Regions from separate parts of the Homo sapiens genome. Here all the other regions are linked to region 3. Evidence: promoter capture Hi-C in 16 types of primary human blood cells and fetal thymus (Javierre and others, 2016). All regions are on one chromosome and are shown on one strand. Each heading gives the region's core, a stretch centred on a gene start or on the middle of the fragment in contact. The rest is flanking DNA. Distances are from core to core; before and after follow the strand shown.

Region 1 (5,009 bases), core at 1,838-4,337, 700 kb before region 3:
TGGAGCACACCATTATCCCAATTTTACACTGAAGGAGGCTGAAGCCCAGAGAGGCTAAGTGCCTTTTCCAAGTCCACACAGTGAGTATAGAGAAAAAGCATTCGGGTTGCTTTGTCTGATGACACACAAAATTCTCCCACACTGTCTGGGAACTGTTCCTGCCCACACCCAGTTCATTGAATGCTTCCTGCAGCAGCTGCTCTGGGTTCGTGACCCTGCTCCTGACCCTTGAGCCACACGGGGAACTTGGATTCCATTCCTTGTACTTGGGACCAGAGAAAGTACAAAGTCAGCTCGTGGAAACTGTAAGAGGCAAAACTTGGGAGCTGGTGGCTGCCATGTTTTCTTCCATATGGAGAATGATAATCTGGAGCAAGAGGGAAGAATGGAGCTAAGGACCAGAGAAAGGCAGAGATGCATAAGAGAGAAGCATCTGTAGCCATTTTGAGACCCAGCCCCATGCCTCTCCTTGAGTTCCTGGAGACACCCAATATCCTTATAACAAGCTTCCCTTTTTTGCTTAAACTTGCAACCAAAGGAATCCTAGTTAATACCGTGGGATATGGCAAGTACCTAGCGAGTGACTGCTGTAAGATTCTTTGAGCTCTTGCCACACCCTAGACTTGCTGTTTTGGCTTCTGGAGCTGAGAGTGTCCTGCTCTTAGATAACTTTGCAATAGATTCACTACTTCAGAGCATGTGACTGCAACCTAACTCTTAATAAATCAGACAGGAGCTTTCTGCATGGAAAAGAGCTTCTGCCATACATCATTTTTGTTTTCCTCTTGGGGAGAACAGCTATGCTACAGCAATAACCTGCCACGTATACATCTCAAAGCCCTATTTATATAGCCATATGGATAAATATATATAAATAGGACTCGGGAATAATAGATTAAAGGATCTGCTCATCCGTAGAAGACTTTATGGGGCTTTCAGGACCTAATGGTGGCCTGATTCAGTAAGAAAAATGGGTCTCTAGTAGGATGTGGCCAATAATTAGATGAGTCCATAACCTGACAGATGCTCACCTGGGAGATAGAGAGGTCGGGGGACCTTGTGAGGGGCCAGGGACTCCAACAGAATAAGCTGTAAGCGGGAACAGGAAGGGAACGGATGTGCAAAGTCATGAACTCTGAGCTGTCTTCCTAGCTCAGCTCCTGTTCTGTGTGACCTTGAGCAGGTCACTTGCCTTCTCTGAGCTTTAGTTCCTCATCTATAAATGAGGAATGTGGACGTGCTGACCTACAAGATTCTTTTTTTTTTTTTTTTTTTTTTGAGATTGAGTCTCACTCTGTGTCCCAGGCTGCAGTGCAGTGGCTCACTGCAGCCTCGACCTCCTGGGCTCAGGTGATCCTCCCACCTAAGCCTCCTGAGTAACTGGGACTACAGGCATGTGCCACCATGCCTGTCTAATTTTTGCATTTTTTTTTTCAGTAGAGACAGGGCTTTGCCATGTTACTCAGGCTAGTTTTGAACTCCTGGGCTCAAGCAATCTGCCTGCCTCGTACTCCCAAAGTGTTGGGATTATAGGCGTGAGCCACTGCGCCCAGCTGGTTCTTTTCTTCTCTGACATTAAAATGACTCTGAGGCCTATGATCATGGTCCTCTGGGTGGGGAAGGTTGGGAAGATCTCATCTGAGTTTAGCTTATCCCTAGGCCTTGACCAATCGCTGATGCTCCTTAAGGGTCTCCTACATTTTGGAGGCATATGCAGAAGGAACCTGAAGTCACAAGATCAGAGGTCCTGCGGCAGTTTAAATAACAATAGCAACAACTGCTACGACTACTTCTCCCATTATTCAGCACAACTGCAGCTGGGGGATTTAGGTTCATGGTCTGCAGCTAACATTTATTGCGGACTTACTCTGGGCCAGGCACCATTCCTTACGCTTTATGTATATTATCCTGCTTCACCCTCCCAACGACCCCAGGAGGTAGGTACTGTAGCTTCTACAGGAGGTAGAAGCAGAAGCACAGAAGCCTAGTGTGTGTCCCAGGCCACACAACCGGTAAGTGAGATTGTTAAGATGCCCCCGGGAGTCTGTCTCCAGAATCTGTGTTCCTCATCACTCCTGCATACTCCCCATTTACAAGGGCAGAAACTGAGGCTACAGGAGGTTAATTGATCTGTGAACAGCCAGGATCCTGGGAGTTCTCAGACCTGTCCATTTTGTGAGAAGGGAAAAAGTCTCGCTGCTCCTTGTGTTTCTTTCTGTTTTTCCAAGTCAGTCCATTTTTTTTCTTGTAACAAAAGTCTATTTACGGAAGAGACATATAGGACCCAAGATAACCATGCATCAGTCATGCTTCAGTGAACTCCCAAATCAAAGATGGGCTGGATAACGTGTACCCGACGCTCTTGGCTTTTTCAGCATTTCAGACGTTTTTGTTGTTGTTCCCTCTGTGGGTTGAAACCAGGCTTTTGTGACTTGATGAGGACACATTTTTCCTGGGGTGTAATAATGCCACTGGTGTTAGCCCTAATGCTGAAGAGAGAACATTTGCTATTTTGGAAGAGTTAATCCCAAAGCTTCTTTCTTTTGCTCCTGCCTTTAGAAAAGGCATTTCTGAGGCAGGTCCAGGCAAGAGTACTGCCTCTGTAATCCGCCCTCAATCATCTTAGCGCTAATCACCGAGCTTCATTGAGTACTTTGTAATGTGCCAAGCTGGGAGCTGAAGGCTGATTTGATTCTCTTAACATCTTCTGAACGGGTATAGCTGTTACCCCCATATTACAGATAGGGCACTGAGGCATGGAGCTTAAATGGCTTGACCAAGATGCCCCGGCAGCAAGGGGCAGAGCTGGGAATAGAACCCCGACTCCAGACATAGGCTATTAATGCCACAGTCTGCTACTCCAGGACTGACCATTACGTTTGTGGGGAGTGGGAGGGGAATGAAACTGCAGGGCCTCTTGTTCAACAAAGATTAAGACTTTAAGACTGCTGGGTGCAGTGGCTGAAGCAGTTTGGGATGCTGAGGTGGGAGGATCGCTTGAGCCCAGGAGTTCAAGACCAGCCTGGGTAACATAATGAGACCTCCGTCTCTATCTTTTAAATATAAAAAACTAAAAAATTAAAAATAAAAATAATGTAGGCCGGGCATGGTGGCTCACGCCTGTAATCCTAGCACTTTGAGAGGCCAAGGCAGGTGGATCACCTGAGGTCAAGAGTTCAAGACCAGCCTGGTCAACATGGCGAAACCCCGTCTCTACTAAAAATACAAAACTTAGCCAGGTGTGGTGGCACATGCCTGTAATCCCAGCTACTCAGGAGGCTGAGGCAGAAGAATCGCTTGAACCCGAGAGTTGGAGGTTTCAGTGAGCCAAGATCGCGCCATTGCACTCCAGCCTGGGCAACAAGAGTGAAACTCCGTCTCAAAAAAAAAAAAAAAAAAAGTGTTAAGACTGTGACGGCAGAGTATTAACCAACTGTGGAGCCCTTCTCAGTATGAGGCCCTGTGTGACTGCACAGGACAGATGCCCAGGAAGCTGGCCCTGACTACCCCTTTGGGCAGTTCCCTGGCTGTCTTCCAGCTTCCAGCCCTCTTTTCCAGGGGGACAAAAGCACCTTGGCCCAGGCAATGTGCTTTATACCGCCCTGACAGCTATGAAAAAGAATGGCACAGCCTGGGCTTTAGAAAGCTTGGGTTGCTGCAGGTTCCTTCTGAGCAGCAGGCAGAGAGGGCTCAAGCCAAGACTGGGTGCCCCAGCCCATCTTCTGCCTCATCGGTGCCCCCGAGGGCTGGCACTTGGCGAAGCCCCACCCCACCTCCAGGCTGTGTCTTGTGGAGAACACAGCCCCTCTGGACTCCTCCCTGTCTCTGCCCATCCTGTGGCTATGTTCATGATGGGGCCTCCTGGAGGTTCAGAGAGGGCCAGAACATTGTCCTTTCTTTAAGCTTTGGTTTATTAAACAATGGAGAAATGTCAAAACGGATTGCAAAAATTGTGGTGTGCTTCAAATGTGTGCATGTTTAAAATCAAGGCCATTATTATAAAAACAAATAAGATGCAATATAAATGTGCTTTTCCCAAGACAGTTACTGGATTTATTCATTCCCAGCTCACATACACAGTAGAACCCGGTAATGGAATACGTGGTGTTATGATATAGATGGGCTGTTGTCCACGGCTTCTGCTTCATATCTCCCATAGCCCCTGTTACAGCCTTTACTTATAATGTTGGGTGTATTAGGCCTCAGGGGCAGGCTTCAGGAAACAGAATCTCTCTCTTGCCCTCCATTCACCTAACTCAAGATAGGACTCTCATTTTCTTTTTTTATTGAGATGGAGTCTCGCTTTGTCACCCAGGCTGGAGTGTAGTGGCGCAATCTCAGCTCACTCCAACCTCTGCCTCCTGGGTTCAAGTAATTCTCCTGCCTCAGCCTCCTGAGTAGCTGGAATTACAGGTGCCCACCACCATGGCTAGCTAATTTTTGTATTTTTAGTAGAGACACAGTTTCACCATGTTGGCCAGTCTAGTCTTGAACTCTTGATCTCAGGTGATCCGCCCGCCTCAGCCTCACAAAGTGTTGGGATCACTGGTATGAACCACTATACCCAGCCTCAACTTCCCCTGCCTTTCTGATTGTGGGTCTTAAGGCTTTCTTCAGAGAGGGTCCCACCCTGTACCCTGGGGGGAAAATGCTTTGAAACTTCCATAAATACCCAAGAGGACTGGGTTGGGGGAGCTCCCGGATAGCTGAACGTGTGAAGCCTGGTATCCCAGGGAGGGGATGGAAGCTCCACGCCCTTTCTCCTATACCCTATGCATCTCTTCATCTGTATCCTTTGCAATATCCTTTTTTGGAGACAGAGTCTTGCTCTGTGCCCAGGCCGGAGTGCAGTGGTGTGATCTTGGCTCACTGCAACCTCTACCTCCCGGGCTAAAGCCATCCTCCCACCTCAGCCTCTTGAGTAGCTGCGATTACAGGCATGCGCCATCACGCCTGGCTAATTTTTGTATTTTTTGCAGAGACGAGGTTTCACCATGTTGGCCAGGCTG
Region 2 (5,001 bases), core at 2,184-4,683, 760 kb before region 3:
CAGACCTCACTTGGAGGTCACAGACCATCTCCTGGCCCTCCAAAGGCTGTCACCCAGCAGTAGCTGGCCTCCTGATTAGAGGAGGCAGTAAGATCTTTTCAAGCACAGCCCCAGCCCCCATCCCTTCTCTGGCCTGGGCCTGGATGTGCCTTTGTGAGGTTGGGTCGATGACAGATCTGAAGGACAGTTCAGTCTTCTGTACACTCCTTCTTGCCCCTCCTTTCTGCCACTCCCAAGAAAAAGGAGCAGGAGTGATTCTCACTTTCCTGAACTGCCTTGGAGGGAGACCCACACTCAGCTGTGCCTTTAGCTGTCTCTGGGAGAAAAGGCCGTGCTGCAAATAACCTCCCTGCTTTGTCCTTTGGCTTTGGTGTGGCTCACCTGGCCAAGCATGTGCTGGTGCTATTTTTAGCAGGTGGCATCCTTTAGGAGGGCCAAGTGCATGTGGCTGCAGTGTACGGGACAGGTCCTGGTGCCAAAGCTGCTGCTGTCTCTGCTGCCACCGCCTCGTCAGGAGAGAGAGGAGAATAAAGCCACCCTGGAAGCTGCCAAGGGGTGTGTGGAGGGGGTGGCTGCTTAAGAGGTCTCCAGGGCTGCCTTTTCTATTCTGGATCTGTGGCAGGGGCCCAGCCTGCCTCCTGGTGCAGGCAGGCATGTGACTGAGGCAGCCCGGGGAGCTGGGGAGCTGGGGAGCTAGGTGTCAGACTGCTGCCTGGGGAGTGAGGACCCCTTGTTGCCCCAGCAGGCAATTTTTCAGGAAACCACATAACCCCATTAAAAACATTATTTATTTATTTATTTATTTATTTAGAGATGAGGTCTTGCTTTGTCACCCAGGCTAGAGTACAGTGGCTCGATCATAGCTCACTGCTGCCTTGAATTCCTGGGTTCAAGGGATCCTCCTGCCTCAGCCTCCCAAGTACCCGGGACTATAGGTGCACATCATGATGCCTGGCTAGTTAAAAAAATTTTTTTTGTAGTGATGGGGTCTCATCACCTTGCCCAGACCCATTTCAAGACTCCTAGGCTCAAGTGATCATTCCATGTTGGTCTCCCAAAGTGCTGAGATTACAGGTGTGAGCCACCGTGCCTGGCCCCATAACTTCATTTTTGTGTGAAGTTGCCCAGCCTAAAGGCTGGCCACTAAATGGACACTTAAAAACTCTCTAATAGTGTGGATTGGTGGGCAGTCTGATTCCTCTGGCTTAAACCAAAATGCAAACATGAAAGGAGGCATGGCCATAGACCCCCGGTGAGAATTCTTTACTGTGATGACACAGAAGCTGAAGAGGGATGAAAAAGCAGTTTGACCAGCAAGCTTGCTGGTTCCCTAGGCCACCCTTTCTTCTCTCCTTTTCAGTTCCTCCTTCCCTCTAACTTGGAGCTGCTAACTCCAGCCCATCTAACTGTTTCTGATTAAGAAAGCTTCAAGCCTTATAAGGCCCTCTGTTGCCTATGGTTTATGTTGGCTGGAGAGCAAGGTTGTTTTTTGCAAAGTCTGATTCAAAGAAGTGGCAAGGGCTTACGTAGGCTGTGTGTGTCCGCCTCCTGGGGCTGGACTGCCTTATTGGAACAGGTTCCTTTGAGGGAGCCTGAGAGTAAGGGGGGCTTATTATCCCTTACCCTTAGTGGTGGCTCTGTAAGGCTAATGTGTGGTGTGGCCACAGGGCTTCCTGGCAAGTGTATTCGCTGAGAACTTAAAGGTAAAAGCAAGCCCCTGTTTACCTACACAGTGTACCTGTCATGCTACCAGCCACAGAGGCATCCTGTTTCAGGAATCAAGTCTGGAAGCAGCTTCTGCTTATTAATTAAGAACTAAAGCCCCTTGGCTCTTCAGGCACATCGCTTTCCCCTCTGGAGAAAGTTTGGTGGACCGTGTCCCTTGGGGTTCTTGCGAGTCCGACTGGCCTTCCGCGCAGTGATGTTGGAGAGCCCTTTTTCTGAGAGCCATGCTCTGCCTCATCTTCACCTCCCCTCTTGCTACCTCTTGAGTCAGCCAAGCCTGTTCCTGCCTTAGGACTTTGGCACATGTTCTTCCTGCCTGGAACTTTCTCCCCGCTCTCCTCCTGCTTCCCCCCAGATCTTGGCACAGTTCTCAAGTGTTCCAGTTCTGATGCCACCTCTTCCAAGAGGCATTCCCGCCTCATTCTGTCTGCAGCTTCCCCTTCCAAGTGCTCCATCCAGCCTTTCTCATTTCAACCACAGCACACAGAAAAGGACTAGGTGACCGTTCCTCAACTCTCCCAGCTGGTGCCCTGCTACACGCACAGGGATATAGGTAATTCATCACATGCAAGGGCAGCCTTAGGGCTCAGTTCTCTCAATCAGTTGAGAGAGGCTGCAGGTCTTTATATTTAAGTCGCGGAATCTTTGCAGTATCTTACCTGTAATTTGACTCTCTACCCTTCCTTCCACCTTTGCTTCCTGAGGGATCTCTTTGCCTTATGTGCCCAGCGAACTTGGCTCACAGTGCGTGTTAAACTCTTTGTTAAATGACTGGCCCTGAGAGGTCCAGCCATCTGATGCTGGCTAGCCCTCAATGCCTTGCTTCCAGAGGGATCTAACCTGTCAATAAGCATGCTCTCTTTTTGATATTACTATTATGTCAGCTGGGCAGCTGGGGGTCTCTGAAGCAAAATTGGCATCAATTATTATAGGAAAATAAGGCCTTACAAGTTTGTACACAGATGAGTTGACATTAATGCAAATTTAGGATGGTTAATAAGAAACATAAAGCTGTGTGGTAATAGAGCATGCATTGCTACTTGTATGTATCTTAATAACGTGTTTTCTATCAAAACATTACTTGTAGAAAGGATTTGGCTTTTGACTGTGTACAAGGCTTGAAAGGACAGTCCTTTGCCCACTGCCCCCCACCCCCATTACTTTCAATTCTTCCAGCTGTCCCCACCATTGTCAGTAGTATTATTTTCTTTCTTTTTAAGGATTATTATCTGATTTGTTTTTCTGCTGTGGGAGATAGGATTTAGCTCGTTCCTATGCTTTTTTCTTCCCTCATCATCCCAGTGTAGAGATAGCCCAAGTTTTGGTCAAGTTGATCTTCAGAATATACATTATTATAATATGAACCTTGTTTATGGCTGCAAGGTTTTTAGTTTCCCATATTTCTTCTTTTCCTTCATTTTCTTCTTCTCCTCTCCTAGTTAATTTCCTTAGTTTCTTTTGCTTAATTTTCTGTCTCTCTCACCAGTTCCCTGACCACCTCGCAGCCTCCACCATTGCTGTGGAATGCCTGTCATTGGGGGAAAGTGGCTCTCACTGTGGCTCCACATACCAGGTACTCGCAACGGTTCCACGTTTCTCCTGGGCGCATCCCTTTTCCCTGGCTCTGCTTCCCCTTCAGCCTTGGAATTCCCTCTCCCCTTCTCTTGTCTCGTTTCTGGATCCAGTGCCCCTCCTTTCTTGGTTGATTTCCTTGTCTTGGGGGAGCCCATCGTTCAGTAGCTTGCTGAGAAGGTGTGCGTGGTTTGTGGCCCACAAGAAGCCAGCCGATCCATGCAGGGACAGGCACCTTTGAAGGCATGGATTGGGCCTTCAGTTGGGTGGCTGAAGTCAGCAGACAACTAGGCCTGTGGAGCCCTTCCGCCAGGCCAGGCCAGCAGAAGGTCTGGCTTCACTTTTTAGAGAAGTTATAAATGTGGCGATCTGGATTTGGGTACCAGGGAGTGGTGAAAATGGGTCCCCCCCAACTTTTTTTTTTTTTTTTTTTTTTTAAAGACAGGTCTCACTGTCCCCCAGGCTGGAGTGCAGTAATGCCATCATAGCTCACTGCAGCCTTGATTTCCTGGGCTCAAGTGATCCTCCCACCTCAGCCTGCTCAGTAGCTGGGACAAGAGGCATGTACTACTATGCCCGACTAATTCTTTTAAATTTTTTTTTGTAGAGATGAGGTCTCACCACATTGCCCAGGCTAGTCTCGAACTCCTGGGCTCAAGTAATCTTCCAACTTCCCAAAGTGTTGGGATTACAGGTGTGAGCCATCGTGCCTGGCTGAAGATGGGTCTTGAATGAAAGTCTATATATTGAATGGGGCATCCCAACTCTCCTTGGCTCCCATAATGCTGGCATTCAGGCTTATATTCTCTCATTCCTACCCCAAGATACTAGAACATTCTAGTCTGAGGACACTGGCACCCCATTTTCTGTTCCTCCTTCACCCCTAACAGGGCACTTCCATGTCCTATGGACAAAACTTTCAGTTGGTCAGTAGCAGAGAGTGGCAGTAACAGGCCCACTGGAGAAAAGGTCATTGCTTGTTTTTTGAGACAAGGTGTCACTCTGTTGCCCAGGTTGGAGTGCAGTGGTGCGATCTCGGCTCACTGCAACCTCTGCCTCCTGGGTTCAAGCAATTCTCCCACCTCAGCCTCTCGAGTAGTTGGGACTACAGGTGTGCGCCACTATGCCTGGGTAATTAAAAAAAAATTTTTTTTTTGTAGATACAAGGTCTCACTATATTGCCCAGGCTGGTCTTGAGCTCCTGGCCTCAAGCAATCCTCCCGAAGTGTTGGGGATTGTAGGCGTGAGCTACCGTGGTGGCCTGTTTGGGCTTTTTTTTTTTTTTTTTTTTTCTTCTGCCCTCCACTACTCCCCGCCAAGACTGAAAGTGCCTCGAGGGCAGTGCCTTGCCTGATTAATTTGTGTCCCACCATGCTTTTCTCTGTGAGTGCCAGTAATTATTTGTTGAATAGAAATTACCTTCTATGCTTTTATGTGATTTCTGGGGTGGTCGTAGTTCACTGTCTGCCATTAGGAAGATCAGGGTCTTACCTCTTTGGTTTTGCCCATGTGAGGTGCTGCGAAGGGTTTCTTGCTGCACACCAACATCTTTTCTGATGTCTTTACTGGCTTTTAAGTCAGGTTGTTGTCAGATTGCCATTTCATACTTTTTGGGCAGTTTTGTGTAATGTCTTCTGTGGTCGTGGGCGGGAACTCCATGTACCCAGGAAGGCATTCCTGGCACCTGTGTTGTGACCATCTTTA
Region 3 (4,963 bases), core at 849-3,348:
CTCAGCCTCCCAAAGTGCCAGGATTACAGGCGTGGGCCACCGTGCCTGGCCCAGAAAAAAAAAATTCTTAAATAATCATTATCAATACTGACAAGGATAAAGTAAGAACTCTCAGAAACTGCTAATCAGAGTGTAAACTAAGACAACTACTTTTTTTTTGGTAGAGACAAGTCCTGCTATGTTGCCCAGGGTGGTCTCAAACTCCTGGGCACAAGCTATCCTCCCTTATGCCTCCCAAAGCACTAGGATTACAGGCACAAGCCACCACATCCAGCCTGTGATTTCTTTTTATGCTTTCTTTGTGTATCTAAATTTTCTACAAGTAGCATGTGTTGCTTTTATAATAAAAGAGGAAGTATTCTTGCCACTGAGCTTAAGAAAAAGAAAAAAAAAGAGAAAAGGGATGCTAAAAAAAAATAAAGAACACATGATTTTCCTTCAAATTCCTAGTGATTGTCTCTCTCTGTCGCCCAGGCTGGAGTGCAGTGGTGGGATCTCGGCTCACTGCAACCTCCACCTCCCAGGTTCAAGCAATTCTCCTGTCTCAGCCTTCCGAGTAGCTGGGACTACAAGCACCCACCACCATGCCCGGCTAATTTTTGTATTTTTAGTAGAGACGGGGTTTCACCATGTTGGTCTGACTGGTCTCGAACTCCTGACTTCAGGTGATCCGCCCGCCTTGGCCTCCCAAAGTGTTGGGATTACAGGCGTGAGCCACCGCACCCGGCCTCTCTTAGACTTTCAAGCATCCTTTCATCTGAGTGGCTTCAAAGAGCCGGACTACTAGATCCACAGACCACGTTCCTCCTATCTCCACTCGTGGAGAAGGCCGGCATAATGATCACCATAAGCTTGGAGTCAGAGATGTGATTCCCAGATCTGCCACCCTCCTATATATTTAGTAATTACAAGAAGTTAGCTAATTTCCTTGAGCTTCGCAGTCTCCTTGAATAAAATGGAAACAAGAATGCCTTCCTTACAAGTTAGAGTAAGGCCTTTAGAGAATGAGATAATGCTTGCAAAGAGCTTAGTACAGTGCCTGGCCCAAAGCAGATGCCCAGAAACATGCGGCTATAATTGCAATGATCTTTCGGTTGCTGGGCTCCAGATTCCACTTTTCAGAACTTCAGTTTCACTATGAGGAAGGGGTGCTGCCTCCCTAATTTGGCTAGATAAGCCTTCTCCACAGGGCAAACCCCTGACTCAATTTCATGTTTGAATTCCCAGACTGCTACCGAAACCTTCCCTTCTGAAGTTCTGTTGCCTCCTGTCCACTACAGGGCTGAGCACTCACGCTCTAATCCGATCCTCGTGGTACCAGATGTCTTGGATGGGAGCTTTGGCTTTGCCATATCGCACTCGAGGCCTTTGGAAGACGGGCTCCCTCAGCGGGGGAAAGGCGTCATATACGTCAAACCACAGGGGCTTCTCCTTCAGCACCCCGGCCCGAACCAGGTCCCGAGTCCTTAGGGAGGGAACAGAACGAAACTGGGTCACTTGCAGTAGCCTGCCAAAGCCCCTGAATCAGTCTAGCACAGTTTGGGACATTAAAGGTATTATGCGGTCTGCAACACAGAACGGGGAAGGACTGCTCCCCACCTACAGAGAAGATCTGTCCACATCCCAAACCAAACTTAACAACGCTCAGGAGAGTTAAATCCCTCTATCTTCTTTTGTGCGTCCCACCCACGTTCGGTCACGGAAAAATGCAAAGAGCGGTCTTGCATGACCTGATAAGGAAGGCCCATCAGGCTCTTCCTCCCTTCCTCTTCCTAGAGACCTCCACTCGGGGAGAGGCAGCTGCAATAATCTTTAACATGACACATAAATTCAAGGAGAGGCATCCTCAGGCACAACTATTCGGAGCCAGGAGAAAACATGAGAGGGCCTCACCCAGCTCAGCCCCCGCACCCTGCAATACGCCTCGCCCTGCTCAGGTCCGCTCCAAGGAAGAGCGTGACCGGCTGAGAACCCCAGCCTGGGGGAGGCACCCTCAGCCCACCACGGCTGGGAGCACACACCGAGAGAAGATGCTCCCTACGGTTTCCAGCCGGCTGCCTGCCATGATCTGCGCCTGGTACCGAGCGTGACTAGCTGCTACCGGAACCGGAAGCGGCTGCTCCAGGTAAAGGGCGCATAAGTTGCTGGCCGAGCCAAGGATCGCTGGGCTTTCACCGCAGCCCCTGCGGGAGAGCGGCGCAGGCAGAAGCAAGTGATAGGCCGAACGGGCGCGCTCCGAGGTTACTTGCCAGGTTCAGGCAGGAGCACTCGATAGCCGAGCCAAAAGGGCAGGAGCGAGCCAAAGCCGGACAGAAGTAATAAATGACCGAGCTGTGGGAGGGATTCATCATGATGGTTGCTTTACTCTCTCTCGCCTTGTTGAGCCAACTCCTCTGAAAAGGTGGGGCCGCGCGGAGGAGAAGTAGTGGGGCAGAGCAGGGGTGAAGCGCAGCCTACAGTCCTAGGGGAGCCAACAAAGGCCGAGATTTGAGGTCACCAGCTCTAGGCCCAGGCTGAGCCTAATGTTGTTTAGAGTCACAGACTACGCAGAAGAAAACCAAGGCCGGGGAGGGGCCGTCACTTGCCCAGCGTCGTGCTAGATCTCGGGCCTCCGCCTCTGGCTGTGTAGTGCTCCCCACTAAGCCCCTCGTCCCCGGAGTGCCACCTGCATCCACGCTAACTAGGATGCTGGCTGCAACTCGTGTTTCCCGCGGCCGGTGTCGCGGGCTACCTCCTCCTTGGAACTCGAAAAGTGAAAGTGTCCGGAACAAACAGACGCCGAGAGGGAAACGAAAAAATCTGGAGAAAGTCATCTCTCAGTGTTAAACTGTAAAAAAATATAAACTGTGTGTAGCATACCCTTTGACCCAGTAATCATATTTCGGGGAAAGAACCCCTTAGAAATTAAAGCATCAATTCATGAGGATGTTTGTGCAAGGATCATCGTTGCAGCATTGTTTGTAGTGGGAAAAAAAATCCATCAGATGAGAAATAGCTGGAAAATTATTGTTCATACTTTCTTTGGAACCCTATGCAGCTATTAAAATGAATGAGCTAGATCCACATGTATTTACCAAGGTTAAGGTACATGACTTATGTTTAAATGAAAAACGAAGTTGCAAAGAAACATGTTTAGTGGAATCTCAACGTGTTAGAAAAAAAAAAGGAAAAAGAAACACCTCTATATATGTTTGTGTTTGAGGATAGAAATTCTGCAGAAGGACACCCAAGGCTGTGAACATTGGATATCTCGGAGTGAAACTGCAGGCAGGCAAGGGAGAATTTTTTCTTCCTTTACACATGCTTCAGAGTTTGACTTGTAAAGAGATTGTATTCATATTTGAACTTTTAATCCAATGAATGTTTTGAATCACACACAATGTCTCCTGGGAGCCTAGTCAAGTCATCCTAGAGTCCTCCCACTCTGAGGCTGGTGAAGGGGAGGACGGGACTGTTTGATGAGTAGTTACTGCTTGTGTGTGTTATCTTACTGAATCCACATACCTTCCCATAAGGTAGCTATTAACATCCTCATTATAGATGAGAAAGCAAGGCCTCAGGAAGTTACATAACTTGTCTGATAAGCAACTGATAGAGCCAGCCTTGGGGGGGTGGGGCAGCCAGGGCCCTTTCCAGTGCCTCACAATGCCGCCTAAGCTATGCCTAAAGCTCGAGGCTGGTAGGCTCAAGAGTCCAGCAGAACGCCGCTCCCCACCCGCCCCCCCCACAACACACACACACACACACACACACACACACACACACACGCACGCCAGGGATCCAGTGATTTGAGGCCCAGGGCTAACCTGAGGTGGATTTCACTGCTGCCTCCAGACCCTCTGGAACAGAGAAGAGAGAGCACAGCTCTGGCCCCAGGCCAGGTGTAAAGGCTCTAGTATCCCAGCCCTCAGGAGGTCTAAAAGACCTTGCTCTGGGGAGAGTAAACATGCTCCCAGCTAAATATAGTCTTCCCAGGCCTCATAACAACTTTCTAATTCTGTCCCAGCCAGCAAGCACTATCTGCCAGCCCAGATTACAGGCACACTTCTCTTCTCCCACCAGGAACTGCTACTGTAGGTTAGTGCAGTCACTGCAGCTAAAGAGTTAAAGGGTTTATTCCAAGATCAAGGAGGGGAACCAAAGACGCAAACCCTCAATAGGGGAAGAACTGCAAGGCAGAAATGTTCTCGCTAATCTTGGGGTGGTCCCTTCCTCTTCCAAGCCTTTGAAGTTTCCCTTTCCAGCCTGCTTCTGTGACTGAGAGCAGAATATTGGTGGGCAGACTTGGGGGTACTTTGGGGATAACAGCCTTCTGAGGCTACACAAGAAGTACACACCCAAGAAACATTCATTCATAATACAGGAGCAAGCTGTCGGGCAGCAGGGGGCAGGCAGAATGGACATTTGAGGCTGTCTTCTTGAGTGGGGACCACAGCCGCCCAAGGCTGTGAGGGCCTGGGGCACTTACACCACGCACCACTGTGCCGCGGGAGGTACCAAGGAACCTCAAGTGTCTCATTCAGTTGTTCAACCACCTGCTGACATAGGTAATGTCCTGCTAATCTTACAGATAAGGAAGTGGTGCTTGTAAACTCCCAAAGGCCATGTTCCTACAACACCACTCGGCCTCATATTAATCCCACTGTCTCATTGTAGACGTGCCCACTAATTGCTTCACTCTGAGCAAGTTATGTAACTTTTCGAGCCTCTGTTTCTCCAACTGTTAAAATGTGGAGCTGGGCTCAGTGGCTCATGCTTGTAATCCCAACATTTTGGGAGGCCAGTGTGGGAGGATTGCTTAAGCCAGGAGATCAAAACCAGCCTGGGCAAAATTAGCCAGGTGTGGTGGTGCATGCCTGTAATCCCAGCTACTCAGGGGACTGAGGTGGGAGGATGGCCTGAGCCCAGGAGTTCAAGGCTGCAGTGAGCCATGATCACACCACTGCACTCCAGCCTGGTCAAC
Region 4 (4,445 bases), core at 1,884-4,383, 730 kb before region 3:
TGACAGAGCAAGACTCTGTCTCAAAAAACAAAAACAAAAACAAAAAAACCCTATCCTTATGCCACAGCAGCCAACAGAATACTTAAATAAATGTTCCTGTTGGCTAGAGCATAAGCCATGTCCCCCACCCTGTTACTCTTTTTTTTTTTTTTTTTTTTGAGACAGTCTTGCTCTTGTTATCCAGGCTGGAGTGCAGTGGCGTGATCTTGGCTCACTGTAACCTCCGCCTCCGGGGTTCAAGCGATTCTGCTTCAGCCTCAGTAACTGGGATTACAGGTGCCTGCCACCACACCTGGCTAATTTTTGTATGTTTAATAGAGACGGGGTTTCACCATGTTGGCCAGGCTGGTCTCGAACTCCTGACCTCAGGTGATCCACCTGCCTCAGCCTCCCAAAATGCTAGGATTACAGGCATGAGCCACTGCGTCTGGCCTACACTGTTACTCTCATACATCTGTTGCCTGCAGTGGCAACCGGGGAGGGGAGAACTCATGTTGGCTAGGGAGATGGCCCCAGGATGCCATGGACAAAAGCTTTAAGGGAACTTTCTTTTCTAGGTGGTGTTGATAAACCGGTCCCTGGTGGAGCGAGGCCTTGCCCAGTGGGTAGACAGCTACTACACAAGCCTTTGACCCCCATGCTGCTTCCTGAGAGTCTTTTTTTGCACTGTTGAAATTGGGCTTGGCACTCAAGTCAAAGATGAACATCGGAATAACAAACATTGTCCTCTCCAGAAAGTCCTTTCTTTCTCCATACTGTAGTCCTATTGAGAAGACATTTCGTCTCTGAGAAAAAAGGATGGAACTATGGGTTCTCTTCGCAAAGCCAAAGGATAGTGTTTAACAAGCCAGCTGGCTTATGCTGGTTCTCAGCTGTTTAAAAAAAAAAAAAAAAAGGAATAGAAACAGTTTCAACCAGATTGTCCTATTCCCCCTGTTCCATTCCCCTCTTCTTCCTTCTATCTCCTTCCCCGGCAAAAACCAAACAAACTGGCAGACAGGCCAGGGATGTATGTTGCTTGCTTGAGAGGGTTTCTTTTACTTCAAAATCTTTCTTCAGGGAGCAAGACATGAACTGACTAATTGGTATCCACTACTTGTACAGCTTACATAAATGAGTTGATGATATTTAACCAGTTTTTATAAACTTCATTTAGGTCTCTAAACACAGACTTTTTAAATTGCAACTGTAAATATGAAATGGTCATCACATCTGACCTTGGTCAGTGGGGAGGGGAACTGGTATCCTGCCAAGCCTGGTTGTAATTTGTAACCATTTTCTATTTGTGCAAACTCTGTAAATATGTGTTTAAACAAATGTAATATTTTGTACAAGATACACTGGAGAACAAAGGGAACTCAAGATTCTTCCAGCCACATGTCACCTGTAGGTAGAAGTAAACTCTGCAGTGCAGCTTCTGCTCTTGGCCCCTCTGGCCAGGGCCCCTGTGGCTTCCTGCACACTGGACAGGTGACTGTATGGTAGAGACTGTGATCTGGGAACTTTTTGCTGTACAAATCTGTTTAAAAAAAAAAAAAAGTAACTCATTGAATTAACTTGCAGTGGTGTGTTTGATTCTTTTTTAGACTGGCTTCAGCATTGTGCAGTTTAAAAATAAGTAAGTAACTTACATAAATCTTCAATTGTATGAACTGCAGCTTTGAGTCCATTTTTTTCCAGTGGTGAAGAATTGGCGGGGGGGGGGTGGTGAGTGTGGCGAGCTGGATCACAGGCCCCACACAACTGCCTCTGCAGGAGACCCATGGTTTTTTGAAGACAATTTGGCCAGAAATTTCTATCTGGCCTTTTCCTCTCTCTCCTTGTCCCACCAGGTGGCAGCCAAGCGTCCTCCGACTTCTTCACTGCATGTTAACTGGCCAGACTCAGTTTAAAGCACTGGCTTCCAAAACGGGTTGTGCCTTCTTTGGTTGTCATTCTTAATAGATTCGTGAAGTTATTTAATTTACTGTAGTGATAAGAATGATGTAAAAAATACATGTAAGTTATGGGATGAGATACTGCCTCAATTTAATAGCCCCTGCTCTTAAAGAAGGCTGGCCACTGCAGCCCAGGCCTACCCCAGTGCCCCGCCCCTGCCCCCTACGTTTGAGGCCTCTGGCTGCAGGGCTGTTGAGCTTGAGCTCTAGTTTTTAGAGAGCTGACGTAGCCTGAGGGTCATTCTGATTGGAGATATCCTCCCACCGCACACCCACTCCTGGGAGCTCCTCCCAGTTCCAACCCAGCTGGCTTGTTCTTTCCGTCTCTGTCCTGGCCAAGCCTGAGCTGTGGCCATTGTCAGGTGCCCATCTTCCCCTCCATCCAGGTTCTCGCCTGTGTGGTTAACAGCCTCTGTTTCCCTCATCTGTAAGATGAGATAACCTCATAAGGCAATTTAATCATGGAAATGCCCTCTGCTTCTACAGTGCTTGGTCCCAGGGAGCTCCCCTGCAGTTCCTTAGCCACTATTGGCTTTAAGTCCTGGCAGGAATTGGGTGTGACTTTGGCCAGGTCACCATACACCCAGGTCTAAGCTTTTCCTCTATAATCCAGCATTGCTGGAGCATGAAAAGGTCTACGGAAGCCTTCCGACTAACTTAGGGAATGCTCACAGAGCCTGGTGTGCAGATTTAGCTTTTATCTCCAGGGAACCATTGAGGGGTTTCAAACATTAAAACATGCTTCTGGTGCAGGGAGAAGGGTGGGTGAGGTGGAGGTGTAGACATGAGAAAAAAGGGATTCCCCTGGGATGGAGCCTGGGACAGACAAGACGTGATGAAGTCAGGATCCTCAGATAAAGCCCCTTGGGCTTTGATGAGTGGGATGGGCTGCTACCCGGGACTCCCACGCCTTAGAGTCCTACCCTGCAAGGGTGCCTCCATTAAACTCGGTTTGGAATGCTGGAGGAAGAGCAAGTTGGAGGCTGGTGAAGGACTTGTACTCCTCGAATAAATGCTTCTCAGATTGTTGCCTTTGATTAATTTCCAGAGTTCTGAAAAACTTGACTTTTAACCATTTTGCCAGAAATCTCATTGTTCTTAAGGAGGAGCAGATTTATGAAGGTCCTCGCTCCATCCCTCTGCAAGTCAGCTGCCCGGGCAAGTGCATTTGAGACGCCCTCTTTTAATTACCTGTGGGGCATCCAGGGGATGTCTTGGTGTGAATTGGAAACTCACGGGAGAAGCCAGTGCTGGCAAGAGATCTGGCAATCTGCCCAGGGTGTAGGGGAGAGGGGTGGAATGCTGGATGCAGGAGGCTAGAGCTTCCACCCTGTTCTCATTATAGGCATTGGTGTCAGTACTGCCCCTCTGGTCTCTGGGGCATCACCATGGAGGCTGGGTTTTAGGGTTACTGCTATACCTTGTACAACTTCAGGTATGCCACTTGTAGACATCAACATCTGTCAGACGATAACTAATGTCAGTTCTAAGATAAAATGAGAGTTGTAGCTAGAGTTAGGGAGTGCTTACTGTGTCAGGTGCTGTCTCTTTTACAGGTAACACTGAGTCCTTGACACAACCCAGGGAGGCAGGGACTCCGTAGATGAGCAGACCCAAGAGGTAGAAGATGGTGATTTTGGAAAGTGGTTCGTGGATAGAGCAGAGCTGAAACTAAAAACCAGGCTGCTACCCCAGGCCAGGTGCTCTTCACCACCACCCCTAAAGCAGCGTGGATTCATCTTGCCCCAGTCCACATCCCCAAATAAATGCCACAGTGATTAAATGATCAGTCCATGGAAAAGCTTTGGAACTTAGAGTGGGAAAGATACCATGACAAGAGAGATCAATGATTTTGCTTTTATGGAAAATTTAAATCTTAAGTAACATAAAGCCAAGAGACACCTGCAGCAGCTAGGGCCAGAGAGTGGACGTTTTGAATCCGTGATAACGTAAAACAAGGAAAACTGGCCAGGCACGGTGGATCGCGCCTGTAATCCCAGCATTTCAGGAGGCTGAATTGGGTGGATCACTTGAGGCCAGGAGTTCGAGACCAGCCAGGCCAACATAGCAAAAACCCCATCTCTACAAGAAAAATGACATGGTGGCACGCACCTGTAATCCCAGCTACTTGGGAAGCTGAGACAGGAGAATCGCTGGAACCTAGAAGGCGGAGGTTGCAGTGAGCTGAGATCACACCACTGGACTCCAGCCTGGGTGACAGAGCCAGACTGTCTCAAAAAATCAAAACAAAGAAAAAACCCAAGACAAATCTCTAAGTTTCCATTGGGAAATATCATAAAGGATGTGGATGGAAAATCTGGGTCTGTTCCTAGACCAGCAGTGGCCAATAGAAATATGTGAGCCACATCTGTAATTTAAAACTTTCTAGGAGCCACAGTTAAAAAGTGCAAAGAAACAGATGAAATTAATTTTCATAATACTTTAAGTCATATCATTTCAGCATGTAATGGATATGAAACATTAAGGAGTTGTTTTACAGTGTTTTTC

Evidence for each region. The method cuts DNA at HindIII sites, captures the fragments that hold promoters and counts their contacts. A CHiCAGO score of 5 or more calls a contact.
Region 1: a fragment that was not itself captured here is called in contact with the fragment with the promoter of MRPS23 in region 3 in 1 of 17 cell types (M1 macrophages); the score reaches 5.5 in M1 macrophages.
Region 2: a fragment that was not itself captured here is called in contact with the fragment with the promoter of MRPS23 in region 3 in 1 of 17 cell types (M1 macrophages); the score reaches 5.7 in M1 macrophages.
Region 4: a fragment that was not itself captured here is called in contact with the fragment with the promoter of MRPS23 in region 3 in 5 of 17 cell types (M0 macrophages, endothelial precursors, activated CD4 T cells and 2 more); the score reaches 7.0 in M0 macrophages.

Annotation. Positions count from the first base shown.
Region 1 is chr17:57,142,945-57,147,953 of GRCh38, forward strand. No RefSeq gene overlaps it. Among named protein-coding and RNA genes, the nearest start is that of AKAP1, 60 kb to the left of the region's middle. The HindIII fragment of the contact is 1,113 bases long and covers 2,532-3,644 here.
Region 2 is chr17:57,090,897-57,095,897 of GRCh38, forward strand. All of the region lies in intron 1 of AKAP1 (A-kinase anchoring protein 1), which reads left to right. Among named protein-coding and RNA genes, the nearest start is that of AKAP1, 8.2 kb to the left of the region's middle. RefSeq lists enhancers at 516-1,065, 1,988-2,487. The HindIII fragment of the contact is 4,020 bases long and covers 1,424-5,001 here.
Region 3 is chr17:57,847,946-57,852,908 of GRCh38, forward strand. MRPS23 (mitochondrial ribosomal protein S23) reads right to left here and starts at 2,099. Exons shown (of 5, transcript NM_016070.4): 1 at 2,022-2,099; 2 at 1,295-1,465. The coding sequence starts at 2,065. RefSeq lists enhancers at 2,080-2,409, 2,085-2,594. The HindIII fragment of the contact is 6,704 bases long and covers 850-4,963 here.
Region 4 is chr17:57,119,693-57,124,137 of GRCh38, forward strand. It overlaps AKAP1 (A-kinase anchoring protein 1), which reads left to right. Exons shown (of 11, transcript NM_003488.4): 11 at 558-1,652. The coding sequence ends at 632. Among named protein-coding and RNA genes, the nearest start is that of AKAP1, 37 kb to the left of the region's middle. The HindIII fragment of the contact is 1,208 bases long and covers 2,530-3,737 here.